4 separate regions of the Homo sapiens genome follow, and regions 1, 2 and 3 are each linked to region 4. Evidence: promoter capture Hi-C in human tissues and cell types (Jung and others, 2019). All regions are on one chromosome and are shown on one strand. Each heading gives the region's core, a stretch centred on a gene start or on the middle of the fragment in contact. The rest is flanking DNA. Distances are from core to core; before and after follow the strand shown.

Region 1 (3,332 bases), core at 440-2,939, 130 kb before region 4:
TGCCCTGTGATTCTTATTAAATTTTGAAGCTGGAGAAGCAGCAGCTTTGCATTTTTGGTCACAGAGCTACAAGGGTGAGACTGAAGGAAATGTTATTGGTTATCATCACCACCGTGGATAGAAAGTCTGTTTGTGGAAAGAGAATAAAATATACAGAATTCAAAAGAATCTGGAATGAGAGTGGACACCCTGCTCCCTGGTCCCTGCAGTTACCTAGTGCCTTTGTAACAAAATCTCCTATGGTTTAAACTCGTCTGAATTAGCTTATGTACCTTGCAAACCAGAGTTCTTCCTAAGTACAGCTGTGCCCTCAGTTCCTTCTTGTCTTCTCACACACAACCTGGATACACAGTACTAACCTCAAATCCATCATAAATCACATCTACATCTTCCTCAACTTGATAAACCATCCCTTTGGGAAATAGCATGAAAGGGCTAGTAAATTAATCTGCTTGAGGTAACTCATGACTGATCCTGCCTTAATGTGCTACCTTTCCCAGGAAATCATGCATCTTCATACAACAACTACTGCTACTACTACTACCAATAATAATAACAACAACAACAATAATAGCATTGAGTGGCAGGTACTGTGCTAAGCACATTATACACATTAACTCATTTAATCCTTATAACAACCCTAAGGTTCCCATTTTATAGGTAAGGGGACTGACATGTGGTAGTGAAGGGACTCTTCAACCAAAGAAATAATCCCCAATAGTATATTTTCAGGAACGGTATCCAGGAGTTATATGCACATCCATCCTTAAACCTATGTTACCACCCCATATATAGCTCTTCATGTGAAATCAGCCGGGGTAAGGAGTAGCGCTGGTCAGCGAATCTAATATTTTGCTTTTTATCGGGAGACTTGAGGGTTAAGAGAGGCCACAGTTCAGCATTTGCCAGTTAAGAAGGAAAGTCATATATTATTCGTTCAAAACAAGCAAGGAGCAGGCTGGAAGCCAAGGAACTCTGGCCAAAAGAGACTGAGGCAAGAGAATATTCATCATCAACTCTGATCCATACAGTGAACACATGGTTGAATTACTCCCCAGGGGAAAGGAGTCAATGACATTGGGAATATGGTTCAGTGAGATAAGCCAGTGTTTTCTAGTCAAGCCCCTTGCAAGACTGATCTTTACCAAGCTTAGGAGTAAGACAAGCTCCTTTCCAGAGTTTCTGCCCTCCTATCCGTCCCTCCCTCCCTCCCTTCTTTCCTTCCTCCCTCCCTTCCTTCCTTCTTCCTTCCTTCTTTTCTGTCTTCCTGCCCTCTTGCCTTCCCTCCTTCCTTCCTTCCTTTCTTCCCTCCTTTCCTTCTTCCTTTCTTCCCTCCTTTCCTTCTTCCTTTTCTTCTTTCCTTCTCTCCTTCCTTTCCTCTATAGATACTTAGTGATTCTCTGTGATATACTGAGATAAGATTCCTGCTTTTGGGAAGGTTAAAATTCACAGGAAAAACAGGCAATAAAGCCAACAATAACAATAGAGTATGGGATATGTGGTGATACTGTAGAAAAAGCATAAGCTTAGGAGCCAAATAGATTCAGCTCAGAATCACGACTCTGCCTCCTACAAATAGATACGATTTTTTTTTTTTTGCAAGTTATTTAACTATGTGTGCTTGGCCCAGCACAGTGGTTCATGCTTGTAATCCCAGCACTTTGGGAGTCCGAAGCAGGCAGATCATCAGGTCAGGAGTTCGAGATCAGCCTGGCCAACATAGTGAAACCCCATCTCTACTGAAAGTACAAAAATTAGCCAGGCATTGTGGCACATGCCTGTAGTCCCAGCTACTCGGGAGGCTGAGGCAGGAGAATGGCCTGAACCCAGGAGCAGAGGTTGCAGTGAGCCAAGATCGTGCTACTGTACTCCAGCCTGGGCAACAGAGCAAGACTCCGTCTCAAAAAAAAAAACAAACAAACGATGTGTGCCTGTGTTTCCTCATCTGTAGTATGAGGATAATGATCATATATATTTACTAGTGTTGTTGGGATGATCAAATTAGGTATATTTAATCATTGTGTAAAAAAGTTGACGTGTAAAATCCATGTAAAAAAGTTGGCAGAAGAGACAAACTGGTAAAGCAGCCGTTCTTCATTTCTCATTTCATTCAACAAGCATTATTAACAGCCTAGCAAGAACACAGTATCCAGGAAAAATCAAAGATTATCAAGCTCATGTTCTATAATCAAGCAATTTATAAACTAGCAGAAGAACAAGACAGATGAATAAGAAACTGTGTATATTTAAATGCTAAGAAGTTCAATTCAAATAAATGTCCATGGAGGACTAGTGTGGTCAGAAATGTTTTATAGAATTGATGGGTCTGAACCTGGGCTTTGAAAGTAAGATAAGATTGCTTCTCGGCATTTGGACTAAGATCAAGTGAAAGAAAGATAAGATGTGGTGAGGAGAAGGAAGGTAATCATGGCAAGGAAACAGCATGAGTAAGTACTGTTCTGGGATGAGGCAGACCAGTCTTGCTAGGGTTTGCTTCCTACTGGGAATCAGTAGGTCAGAAGGTTGGAAAGGATCACTGGGTCCTGTATGACAAGCTGGGGAGTATGAACTTGATCCTGAATTCAATGGGACACCATGAAGGTTTGCATTTTGGAGTACAGCACAGCGTTAGTGCTTTATGGGTAATATTGATTGCTCCATGCATGTAGGGTAGATTGCTGGGGACCAAATTCCAAGGGGTGGAAGTGGGGAGACCAGTTTGGTGACTACAGTTGTCCATACCTTGGGCCATGGAGACCTGAATATGGCTGCAGTAGTAAGGAAGACAAGGAAGCTGACTACAACAGGCTATTTTAAACTTTTTTAAAAACAGCGATAAAATATACATAACATAAAATTTACCATCTTAACCGTATCTAAGCATAGAGCTCAGTAGTGGTAAGTATATTCGCATTGTTGTGCCACCAATATCCACAACTTTTTCCTCTTGCAAAGCTAAAACTATAACCATTGAGCAATTTTCCATTTCCCTCTCCTCTCAGCCCCTGGCAATTGTCATTCTACTTTCTGTATAACAGACATTTCATATCATTTAGAACTCTTTAGATTTTTAAGAGCAAGACAACTTAAGCTAACACGCAAAGAGGGTGGCAAGGGATTTATTGTTGATTTACAAAACAGGATCAGAATGCTTCCAGACAGGAATGCGTCTGGGCCTCTGAACTGACTGGAATCTAAGCAGAAAGGTGTCAGACATCTCCGAGTGTCTGCTTCTCTCTGTGTGCTACTGCATTCCGTCTGTGCCGACCGGCTTCCTCTGCTTCTCTCTCTGCTTGATAGAATATTGCATCTCTCTAGCTCTGGGTTCATAT
Region 2 (3,605 bases), core at 661-3,160, 190 kb before region 4:
AACTTGGGGTGGGGGAGATATAAATGTACAAAATAGTTTTAAACTGGTAACTTGTACTTCTTTTTAAGGATACTTGTTCATGAGGAAAATTACCTATCTTCATTTAGTTATATGTTCTAACCTCTCTAAATCTATGAAAACATGCAATTGGTGAAAGAAAAGAAGCTGCTAACAAACAAATTATATAACTCGACACGGTCAATTCCTTTAAACAGTTAAAATTATGTTTAGGTACCACTAAGAACTGAATTCCCCCATTCAAATCATATTTGACACATAAATGAAATATTATAGTCAAATAATTGATTTAGAAAATACATTCTCAAATGCAAACAAGTTAAAAAGTAATCAACTCTTGATTTAACGCTTTAGTAATTATTATTACATCTACTAGGTTATGTTTGTGAAGCAACAAATGATTTTAAAATGAGACTCTCAAAACAATACAAACCCTATGACACCAGTCTTAAGTTATACATACATATTGTTCATTGTAATAAAATTATATAAAGGTGAGTATTACTAAAAATAGGTCTTTATAATAGATACAGCTAGTCTCTGAGCGCTCTCTGAAAAAGATAAAAAGAATAGGTCTGGGCCAGGCGCAGTGGCTCATGCCTGTAATCCCAGTACTTTGGAAGGTGGAGGCAGGCGGATAACGAGGTCAAGAGATCAGGAACATCCTGGCCAACACAGTGAAACCCCATTTCTACTAAAAATACAAAAAAATCAGGTGGGCACGGTGGTGCATGCCTGTAGTCTCAGCTACTCGGGAGGCTGAGGCAGGAGAATCGCTTGAACCTGGGAGGTGGAGGTTGCAGTGAGCCGAGATCACACCACTGCACTCCAGCCTGGTGACAGAGCGAGACTCCGTCTCAAAAAAACAAACAAACAAAAAAGAATAGATCTGTTTGGTTTTTTGTTTACAAGTATTTTAAAAACAATAAATAAAAGAGAGTTTCCACTTCCTGTATAATACACCAGGAAATTCGGACCAACTGAAATCTAGTAAAATGACAAATTATATAAAAACAAAAAAATCAGCTTGAAGGCCTGCCCAGGCATTGAGGTCATTTACCCTATTGGCATTTGCTGATTTCAAGGCTGGAGGTAAGATTTGAAGGGCTAAAAAAAACTCGGTGGTAATTTCAGGGATTTTACAGAATGAAGGAAAGAAAAAGTGAAACACAAGGCCTTCACGTTGAACTGGGACTCCAATGGTTGGAAGTGAAAGCAAACTACCTAAAGTTAGGCCCTCCAAAGGACTGCACTGCAGCTGAGCTATGAATCACCTCAGTATCTGAGTTTGGATTGAGTTGAATATGGATTGCGAGTGTCCCCAGGTAGTCTCTGCAAGAATATAATCTTTCTAGGCCTCAAATTATTACTATATATGATTTTCCAAACAACAACGTCCAACACACAATTGTCCAGCACACAGTAAAAAAAAAAAAAAATAACACTTCTCCATTCCAATGCATTCTCCACATTCTAAAAACTCTTGCCTACAGAATAAAAGCCCAACTTCTTTAGTGTGGTGTACAAGCAAGCAATATTACAGTGATTAAGGGATTAGGACCTATAATTACATAACCTTGATTCATATTCTGACTTACCAGCTAGGCAACCTTCGGGCCACTCACAGAAAATCTCTGTGTCTCAATTCTGCATTTGTAAAATTACAATATTAATACCTACCTAAAGGTTATTTTGAGGATTAAATAAACTAATGCATATAAAGAACTCCTGTACATTGGCACAAAATGAGCACTAAGTAAATGTCACTGATTGCTGTTTTGGGGTAATGTGACTCCTACGTATCCTTCACAGTTCCTACAATCAAGTTACTCAAAACTTTCAACTATTGCCCTAAAATATAATGCTCTTTAATGTGTCTATACCTTTGTATATATGCTTTTCTCTCCCTAGAATGTCCTATCTGACCCCCATACTTCATACTTTTACTCACGATGAAAGTCAACATGAAGGATTAGTTATTTATTTTGAAATTATATAGAACTCCTTCATAACCTGATTGTAACACTAACTAGGCTGTGTGAAAAATCTGTTTACATACCCCCACTAATGCATGACTACTGCATACTAAAGAATTTGGCTGGCTTTTGTCCCCAGTTCTTGGGACATAACCTCTAAATTCTTGAAATTTCCTGAGTGATGGGAGTGTCTTCCTATTCATGGTGAGCCCTGAAAATTTATGCCAATGAGGTGACTCATGGTGGGCCCCTAATTAATTTAAGCTAAAGATATAATTCAGAATAGGGGATGGCCACTCCAGAAACACTAACCATGTGATTAAAATGTTGGGGCCATATGGTATTAGCCTAACTTCCCGAGAGAGAAGGGGATGGGAGGGGCTGGAGATTTGAGTTCAGCCTCATGGCCAATGATTCAATCACTCATGGCTACATAATGAAACTTCAATAAAACTCTGGACACCTGAAGCTCAGATGAGCTTCCCTGTTGGTGATACATGTTGATGTGCTGGGTGGGTAACACATTCTGAGGACCCAGAAGCTTTGCATTTATGATCCTCCCAGACCTCACTCTATGCATCCCTTTATTTGGCTGGCTCTGATTTCTATCCTTCATGATAAAACTATAGTCATAAGTGTAGAACTTTCCTGAGTTCTATGATAATTCTAGTGAATTATCAAACTTTTAGGACAGAGTAGGAACCCCTAAATATGTAGCCAGATGGTCAGAGTAGGTGGGGAGCACCAAGCTTGCAGCTAGTGTCTGAAATGACAGCAGTGTTATAGAGCAGCAATCCCCAACCTTTTTGGAACCAGAGACCAGTTTCATGGAAGACAAAATTTCCACAGACCGGGGGAGGATGATTTTGGGATGATTCAAGCATATTACATTTATTATGCACTTTATTTCTATTATTATTACATTGTAATATGTAATCAAATAATTATACAACCCGCCATAATGTAGAATCAGTGGAAGCCCTGAACTTGATTTCCTGCAACTAGATGGTCCCATCTGGGGCTGATGGGAGACAGTGACAGACCATCAGGCATTAGAACCTCATAAGGAATGAGCAACCTAGATCCCTCACATGCACAGTTCACAGTAGGGTCTGTACTCCTATGACAATCTAATGCCGCTGCTGATCTGACAGAAGGTGGAGCTCAGGCAGTAATGCAAGCAGTGGGGAGCAGCTGTAAATAAAGATGAAGCTTTGCTCACTTGCCCGCCACTCACTTCCTACTGTGTAGCCCTGTTGCTAACAGGCCATGGACTGGTACGGGGATCTGGGGTGGAGAGGAGACCCTTGTTGTAGAGGACTGTGCTCTTAACCTAGGAAATCTGTTCTAGCCCAACTGCAGGTAGTTGGTGTCTAAAGCCACTGCGATAGCCTATGCCTTCTTCCTTACTATGTACTCTAAGCCTGTGACACAGTCTCTGTAATTAAATGTTGAGTAATAAATATTTATACAATTGAAGTAATTCAAACATATTAGATTCTGAATTCTTAGCAAGATGAAGTACAAACAGCATATGCTTTTAAATCAGGAGATTGAGATTCAAGTCCTAATCCTAGCTCTACCATCTATTAGAAGCAAATAACTTCTCTG
Region 3 (3,609 bases), core at 190-2,689, 150 kb before region 4:
AATAAACCAATTTTAAGTGTCATTGAACATAAAGAGAAGCACTTTTGATTTTGAGAAACAGAAAGGATCGTTTTGGTTGTGAGAACATCCAACAACTGCTACAATAAGGCATCATTCACATGTAGATAAACCAGGTAAAAATTTCTATAATCCTTAAATTGAGGATTGTTTCATGTGCTCTCTGTTTAAAGAAAAAGTCAGTCACAGGAAGTACTTAAAAAACAAAAGCTTCCAAGCAAAATAAACAATTCATAAGAACAATAACATACTGGCTTTTAGAAAGCTGCTTGGGGTTCTGACACAGGAAAATACGTTTATGTTTACAAGGAAAGGAGCATGAAAGAGAATTATGGACCCTCTCAAAGGAGAGACAAAGCTATCAGGATGCAACAAGGTTTTCTTGAAGAGCTCAGAGACAAAAAGGAACCACAAAACAGCACACACATAAAAAAAGAAAAATATCTGACAAATGATAGCCAGGCCCCACAAATCCCGATAACACGACATTCCACTTATTAAAACCATCAGTCTTGGAAGACTTCAGGCACAGTAATTCTGAAAATGTACACAAGTAAATTAAAACCAGGCTTATGATTCTTCTCATTTTAAGTCCCTCACTTGTACCCCTCTGCAAAAGCTGATGTGAAATTTAAAATTAAATGAAAAAAAGTCAACATGAACCTTGCTGATTTTAAGCCAGAGCCCCAAGTTCTACATTTTTAAATTGGAACGTAGTCTAAAAGTCTCTCCGCACAGGAAATGGAAGCATACTTTCCTAGGAAAATTTGTTCCAGGGTAAACAGAAAATGCTATATCTACAATTAGGAAGCATGTGTGACAATTTTATTTATTAAGTTATCTGAACCACTTGGTAGCAGATATTTTAGGACATGTTTTATGGCCATGTTCTTTATTACTGGACACAATCCTTGATGGAGGTAGCAGGAGGTAGTGCCAAGAGAACTGGACAAAGAGCCAGCAGACCCAGTCTCAACAACCAAACAGGGCATGCCTCATTCACCCTGTTTCTTTATTCATAAAAGAGCAAAAAATATTGAGCATCCCTGAACATTGTTGGAAGAATCCAAAGTCCAAATAAGATAAGATGTCAAAATTATTTTAAAAACAGTGAAACCTTATTGAACTGTGTCAGCTTCGATTCCTTTCTCTGCACAAGGACCCAGTGGGGCCATGTAACACTGGTGAACCACAGAGCAAGCTCAATAATTCCTCTGCAGCTACAGCCCCATCGCCTGTCACTGGGGCAGGGAGTGGTGGGGGAGCAGCAACTTCACAGCCCATTGCTTTATGCCTAGGCAAGGTAACTGACCACCTGTGTAGGGTGACTGAAGTGACCATCGGAAGACCCCAGAGAACAAAATACACTGCCCCCACACTCTTGCTATAAACTTGGAACTCCAGCTAAGGATTCTGTCCTTTAGGCTAAAGGTTTAGGGGCACTTGTTCCATTGCGAAAGGCTTTGAAAGGCTAACACATTTTGTTTGTACCAGTTATTAACATCTTACCATGAATGACTTTGTACCTATTCTTGAGAGTAGTTTTCATAACGAATATAAGAAAAATATAAAGATATATCACTTCTACTGCCACCAACAACTCCCCCCAACCCAGCGCACACAGTGTGGACATTCTTTGTTACCTGGCCTCTTAGAGGAAACACTATCTGAGAATCACTAACATCCTCTAGTGATCTTAGCATAATATCTCATCCATGGAGGGAATGCTTATTTTTACAAGAATACCAAAAGAGGGAATGAACACAAAGGAGTTAAATACTAACGGTGAGATTTGAGACAGAGTGGCTCCTGGATGAAAGATTTGACATACATCTCAAGTCAGTTATGGTAGGTAGCTGCTTACATCCCCTAAGTGGAGGTCAAAACTAGCAGTGGAATTTTGGCATCTCTGACTACACAGCGAATGAATCTAAGGGGAGAATTAAAATGAAAGGTTAGGTCTTCACTGGGAAACACTCTTCCCAAACTCAAGTCTGGCAGATATCATCAGCAACAGTTCTGCTATTTTTAATGGCTAGGAGGGTGCTTAAGGAAATGTCAGTCTCTAAGATTATCCCAACTCTCCTCTGCATAAATAATAACATCATTACTGACAGATTCTTGGATCAACCGATCTTCTTTTAAACATGCAGACTAGTCAAAATGAAATACTTATTAGAGAAAGATTGGAAAGGGTAAAACTGAAAATGATCACTCAAAATTAGAAAAAAATTAGCCTCATTAAAAGGAGAAAAAATATGGGCATTCTGAGCTAGCCAGACACCAAAAATATGTATGAATAAACAGCAAAGCAGCAATACTGTGTTGGTAATATGGCCTTTGAGGATGCAATGACTCAAAGGAAACCACCAGAGAAGCCAGTGCTAACCCCCAGTTCATGCTCAGAGGCTTGTAGATCACCAGCAATCCTGGCAGGTCGACAATATTATACCAGCTGGGAACATTTCCTCTGGCTTATGCTCAGTGTATGCCCTGAAGTCTCAGGACTTTCTAATGCTCATTATTTTTGTTTTAATTCTGGTGCTGGAAACGCTATCCTCATTCCCATGAATGCTTAATCTTTCTGAATCATCCTAAACTATCTGTAGCAATTATCCTATGATTGAAGTTCTAAAGTTAATTAAGTTTGAAAAAAGACTCATGAGTTTTAAATTTTTCTGCCTTTTCATTTTATCAAGTGTATTTTTATTCCTTTATTATTAGAAAATGTAAATAAGCATCCAATCATCCTTCTCTTTAACATTTATTATTTTATAGCCCTTATCAGATTTCTACTGTTTTTCTCCCAACTTAAAAGTCCTAGTCATTCACCTTTGGGATCTATCTTGCCACTGTAATTTTTATGACCTCCTTTACACTACTTCTTGTCTAGCTCAGTCATTTTTAAGATGAAGAAGATAAAATGGAACAGGCCATTCAAAATTAGGATGATTATATACCCTGTAAAAATGAATATAAATGTATCATATTGTTTTCTATAACCCTTTTTAGCCAGAATAGTTTCTTATTTACTTAATTATCACTGCTCTTTAAAAAGATGTATTCTTTGAACTGTCCATAATGGTGTCTACATGCTTTTCCTGAAGGGTTATAACTAAGTCAGTACCTGTGAAGATATTATTTAAGTTATTTCCTTCTGAGATGCATTAGAATCATAGACTCTCGAGTTAAATTTCTGCCTTTGGTGTGTTCATCTATCTGGTTAAGTAAAATACCTAGATGCTTCTAGATTTCTAACTCCTTTACCATCTGCACTAGATAATTATGGTGGGAGACAGGCCCTTAACACTTTCTGAAGAAAACTGTCCGGCACATGTCCTCCACTGATAAAGCCCACTTATGCAGCTGTTTTTTTTTTGTTTTTTTTTTTTTTTTTGAGACGGAGTCTCGCACTGTCGCCCAGGCTGGAGTGCAGTGGCGGGATCTCGGCTCACTGCAAGCTCCGCCTCCCGGGTTCACTCCATTCTCCTGCCTCAGCCTCCCAACTAGCTGGGACTACAGGCGCCCGCCACTACGCCCGGCTAATTTTTTGTATTTTTAGTAGAGACGGGGTTTCACCATTTTAGCCGG
Region 4 (3,243 bases), core at 261-2,760:
TGTATGACCCATACTTTCAGGCAACAAAGCAAAACTTTAATAAAAGAATAAGTAGTCGTGATACTGGAATTAAACATCTGCAGGAGTGTACCTATTTGCCCATAAACACTTAAATCTGTACTGTCAGTTATAATTCCCATCAGAATAATTTGTTTTTGCATTTTTTTAAAGTGTAAAGTTTTCCATGGGACACTAAACAATGTAAGAAAGTCCCTGTTACTGGTTTAATGGCGAGACAGAATACGGCCAAACTCTGGAGGGCCTTGAATAACCTAACTAACTAGTTTTACCACCACAAGGTGCAGAAATTACTAGGCTATCAGCTCAGTTAAGGTAAGAGAGTTATCTTTCATCTTCAAGTCTCTATAGGCTAGCACAGACCTGGCTTATTGTATATGTCCAATGAACTTAAGGATCCTGGATGCTTTATGTGTGAAATCATCCGAGCTGATTAACGGGGTGATTCTCTAGGCTTTTCTACTATTTTCCCAGTGTACGTGAATAAACGAATCAATAAAATGAACACTCTCAGCTTAGTGGCCAAGTTATATTTAGTGTTCCTCAAATGTGGTCCATAAACTACTTACACTGGAATCACCTGGAGCAACTATTTAGAATTGCAGTTTCCTAAAAATACCCCGAACTCTCCGAATCACAATCTCGGACAGGGCAGGGATTAGGAATCTGTATTTGTACAAGAGACTCTAAGTAATTGTTAGGCCCATTAAAATGTGAAAACGACTATATTAAGTCTTGGTTAACGAAGTATATCTGCATTTCCAATACATTTTGAGGAATGCAACTTTAGGGGTGCAGAACCAGTACTTCCTTTTGGGGTTCATCCACATGAACCCAACAAAAGCCTCCTGAGGGATCGATCAGATTACAGAAAACAGGTCTGCACGCCCAAGGGCAGGGTTTTATTGTGTAAGTACGGGATTTTTTTCCTCCCGTTGAGAACTACAACTGCCAAGTAGGCTACAAGAGTTCGTGCCAGGGCAAGTCCAAGCCCGAGATGCCCGAGATTCCTGTCCAGAGCTAATTCAATGGTCAGTCTCCCTTTCCCCTCCTTTTGTCTCTTGAATCACGAGCGTCGCAAAAAGCCTAATGTGCTTCCCCTCTCGCAGCGACCGCCTCAGCCTGGTCCCCACCCGGGCTGCAGTACCTGCCAGCAGCTTCTCCTTCAACCGATTCAGCAGCTCGGCTGAAGTGGGCCCTTTGGGCTTGTGCACGGCGAACACGCCGCTCAAGGACAGCAGCTTGGTAGCCAAAGCGGCCTTGGAGACCCTGGCTTCGGATCCGGTCCTGGCCGCGGCCGCAACCACCGCGGCTGCAGCCCTTGCTGACGGGGTCGCAGCCATTGCTGCGACCGTTCCTGCAGTTTCAAGGACAGGGGATGTGTCTGTTTTCAAAGACGGCGAAGACACCACCGCCGCCTCAGAAGCGGCCATACTTTTGTAGCCCAGACCTGTTTCATCGTGGAGGTGCACGCTGATGATGCAACAAGAGTGCGCCTGACAGGACCCTCTTCCTCATACCGCGAAGCTGCGCAGAACGGAGAGGTCGCACGGACTTGTGGGAATTGTAGTCCATGGCCTTCCCATATAGACCAAGAGCTTGCTGTGCCCTTGGACTTTAAATAGAAAATTTTAAATGTTGACTTTTCCTGAGGCTTGTGAAGATCCATGGCTTCCTGGGCTCACTGCTTCATTGATTGTATTGTGCTCTTACATTCAGGTTCAGAATTAGAAGACATCCAAATGTGAGCTCTATTAGAGCAAGGAACTTATGTACCACGTTAACTGAGACATTCCCAAATGCCTCACATGTTGTAGGCACTTAAATAAATATTTGAAAACGTATAAATAAGTATGAATTCTTCAAATTCCCCGAAGAAACCAAGCCAATGGTAAATCACTTGTGCTTATTTTGATGCTCTTCATGCACTCCTGTTCACCCTCCCCAAACCCCCACTGACCCCACTACAATTTTTAATAATTCTGATTTTGAATATCAGCTCTTCTGTGGGTTGAATTCCTTAGTACACTTTGTTTAGATATCAAAAGGTATTCTTGCAATTCATAAACTTTAAACCACTTCCCATTTGAGACCTTCTCCCTAAAAGTTATTCACTCCCTAACAAGATTGAGGAATATTGTTTTGATTCCAGCACAAGGCAGAGTGGAGAAAAATTACTTCTGCACCAGAAACATTAAATGCTATCATAACTATTGTGAGACAGATAAAGTTTGCCCTCATTGTTTTTTAGGTTTCTTTACAACCACTCTTTGTCCTCATCATACTCTTGGACTTTAATATCTAGTATTTTAGTGATGCCCCTTAGCTGCTCACAATCACCAGTTATGGGGTCCCATTTGAACTTGCACCCATTCGTGCAACAGACACATGGCAGAACAATTTATTAAAAGGAAAAAAAAATCTTTGAGGGAGTTTTTTCAGGGTGGAAAGCTGAAACTCCTAGAAGGAAGTCACTTACTCTTGTGGTCTATTATAAAAGCCTAAGCTAACTGAAAAGATTGGCATATCACAGGATTAGTGGACACCTGGCCCTGCTTCAAGATGTTAATTTTTCCACAAAGATGTTGTGACTTCAGAAGGGATGACTGCACCCAAAGGAGCATGGTGTCCATTAGCCTCAGGAAAGAGTTCTCTATTCTTGTGCCATGGAAGCAGAGAGCCAGGGACTTGCAGGGAAGGTTGCAAGGCTTGATCAATGATGACTTGGATGACTCCAAGGCACTTGGAGATTAGAGGCCTTTTCCCAATTGTCCGGACATCAGCAAGCCTCCCTATTTCTCTTGTGGCTCTGGGGGTGAGGGATGCAGAGGGAGAACAGAACTAGGGGTAACATATGATGCTTATATTTGAATTTTCCATCAGCCCAGTGTAGGACCAGAGTTAATCTGATTTAAAGAAAATGAAGAAATGTATATTTCTTGCATGTTTGATTTCTGGGATGCTAGGACACAACAAAATTAATGCTACTCTGCTATTATATCGGCATTCTTGGGATCAGAAGCACCAAGCTTTGTTTTTCTAAGGTAATCAACATCTCCCACATTGGGCAGGCCTTGAATTCACAGGTTTTTTTTGCTCCAATACATGTATGAGTTTGGGCTCTTTGGTCAACAGAAAACTGATTCATACCAGCTTGGGGGCACAGGGGGAGAAGATTTATCAGAAATACACTGACACACTATTCAGAACCTAGAAAGTTCTCTG

Evidence for each region. Contacts are between HindIII fragments. The study calls those that stand out against the background at their distance.
Region 1: a fragment that was not itself captured here is called in contact with the fragment with the promoter of TRUB1 in region 4 in 2 of the 25 tissues and cell types used here (aorta and mesenchymal stem cells).
Region 2: a contact is called between a fragment that was not itself captured here and the fragment with the promoter of TRUB1 in region 4, in 2 of the 25 tissues and cell types used here (IMR-90 fibroblasts and mesenchymal stem cells).
Region 3: a contact is called between a fragment that was not itself captured here and the fragment with the promoter of TRUB1 in region 4, in 2 of the 25 tissues and cell types used here (aorta and mesenchymal stem cells).

Annotation. Positions count from the first base shown.
Region 1 is chr10:115,065,796-115,069,127 of GRCh38, reverse strand. No RefSeq gene overlaps it. Among named protein-coding and RNA genes, the nearest start is that of ATRNL1, 26 kb to the left of the region's middle. The HindIII fragment of the contact is 3,345 bases long and covers 17-3,332 here.
Region 2 is chr10:115,123,349-115,126,953 of GRCh38, reverse strand. All of the region lies in intron 3 of ATRNL1 (attractin like 1), which reads right to left. Among named protein-coding and RNA genes, the nearest start is that of ATRNL1, 32 kb to the right of the region's middle. The HindIII fragment of the contact is 3,762 bases long and covers 30-3,605 here.
Region 3 is chr10:115,081,523-115,085,131 of GRCh38, reverse strand. All of the region lies in intron 1 of LOC105378496 (a long non-coding RNA gene), which reads left to right. Among named protein-coding and RNA genes, the nearest start is that of ATRNL1, 10 kb to the left of the region's middle. The HindIII fragment of the contact is 7,764 bases long and covers 1-3,609 here.
Region 4 is chr10:114,936,462-114,939,704 of GRCh38, reverse strand. It overlaps TRUB1 (TruB pseudouridine synthase family member 1), which reads right to left and starts at 1,510. Exons shown (of 8, transcript NM_139169.5): 1 at 1,166-1,510. The coding sequence starts at 1,451. RefSeq lists an enhancer at 1,139-1,678. The HindIII fragment of the contact is 7,626 bases long and covers 1-3,243 here.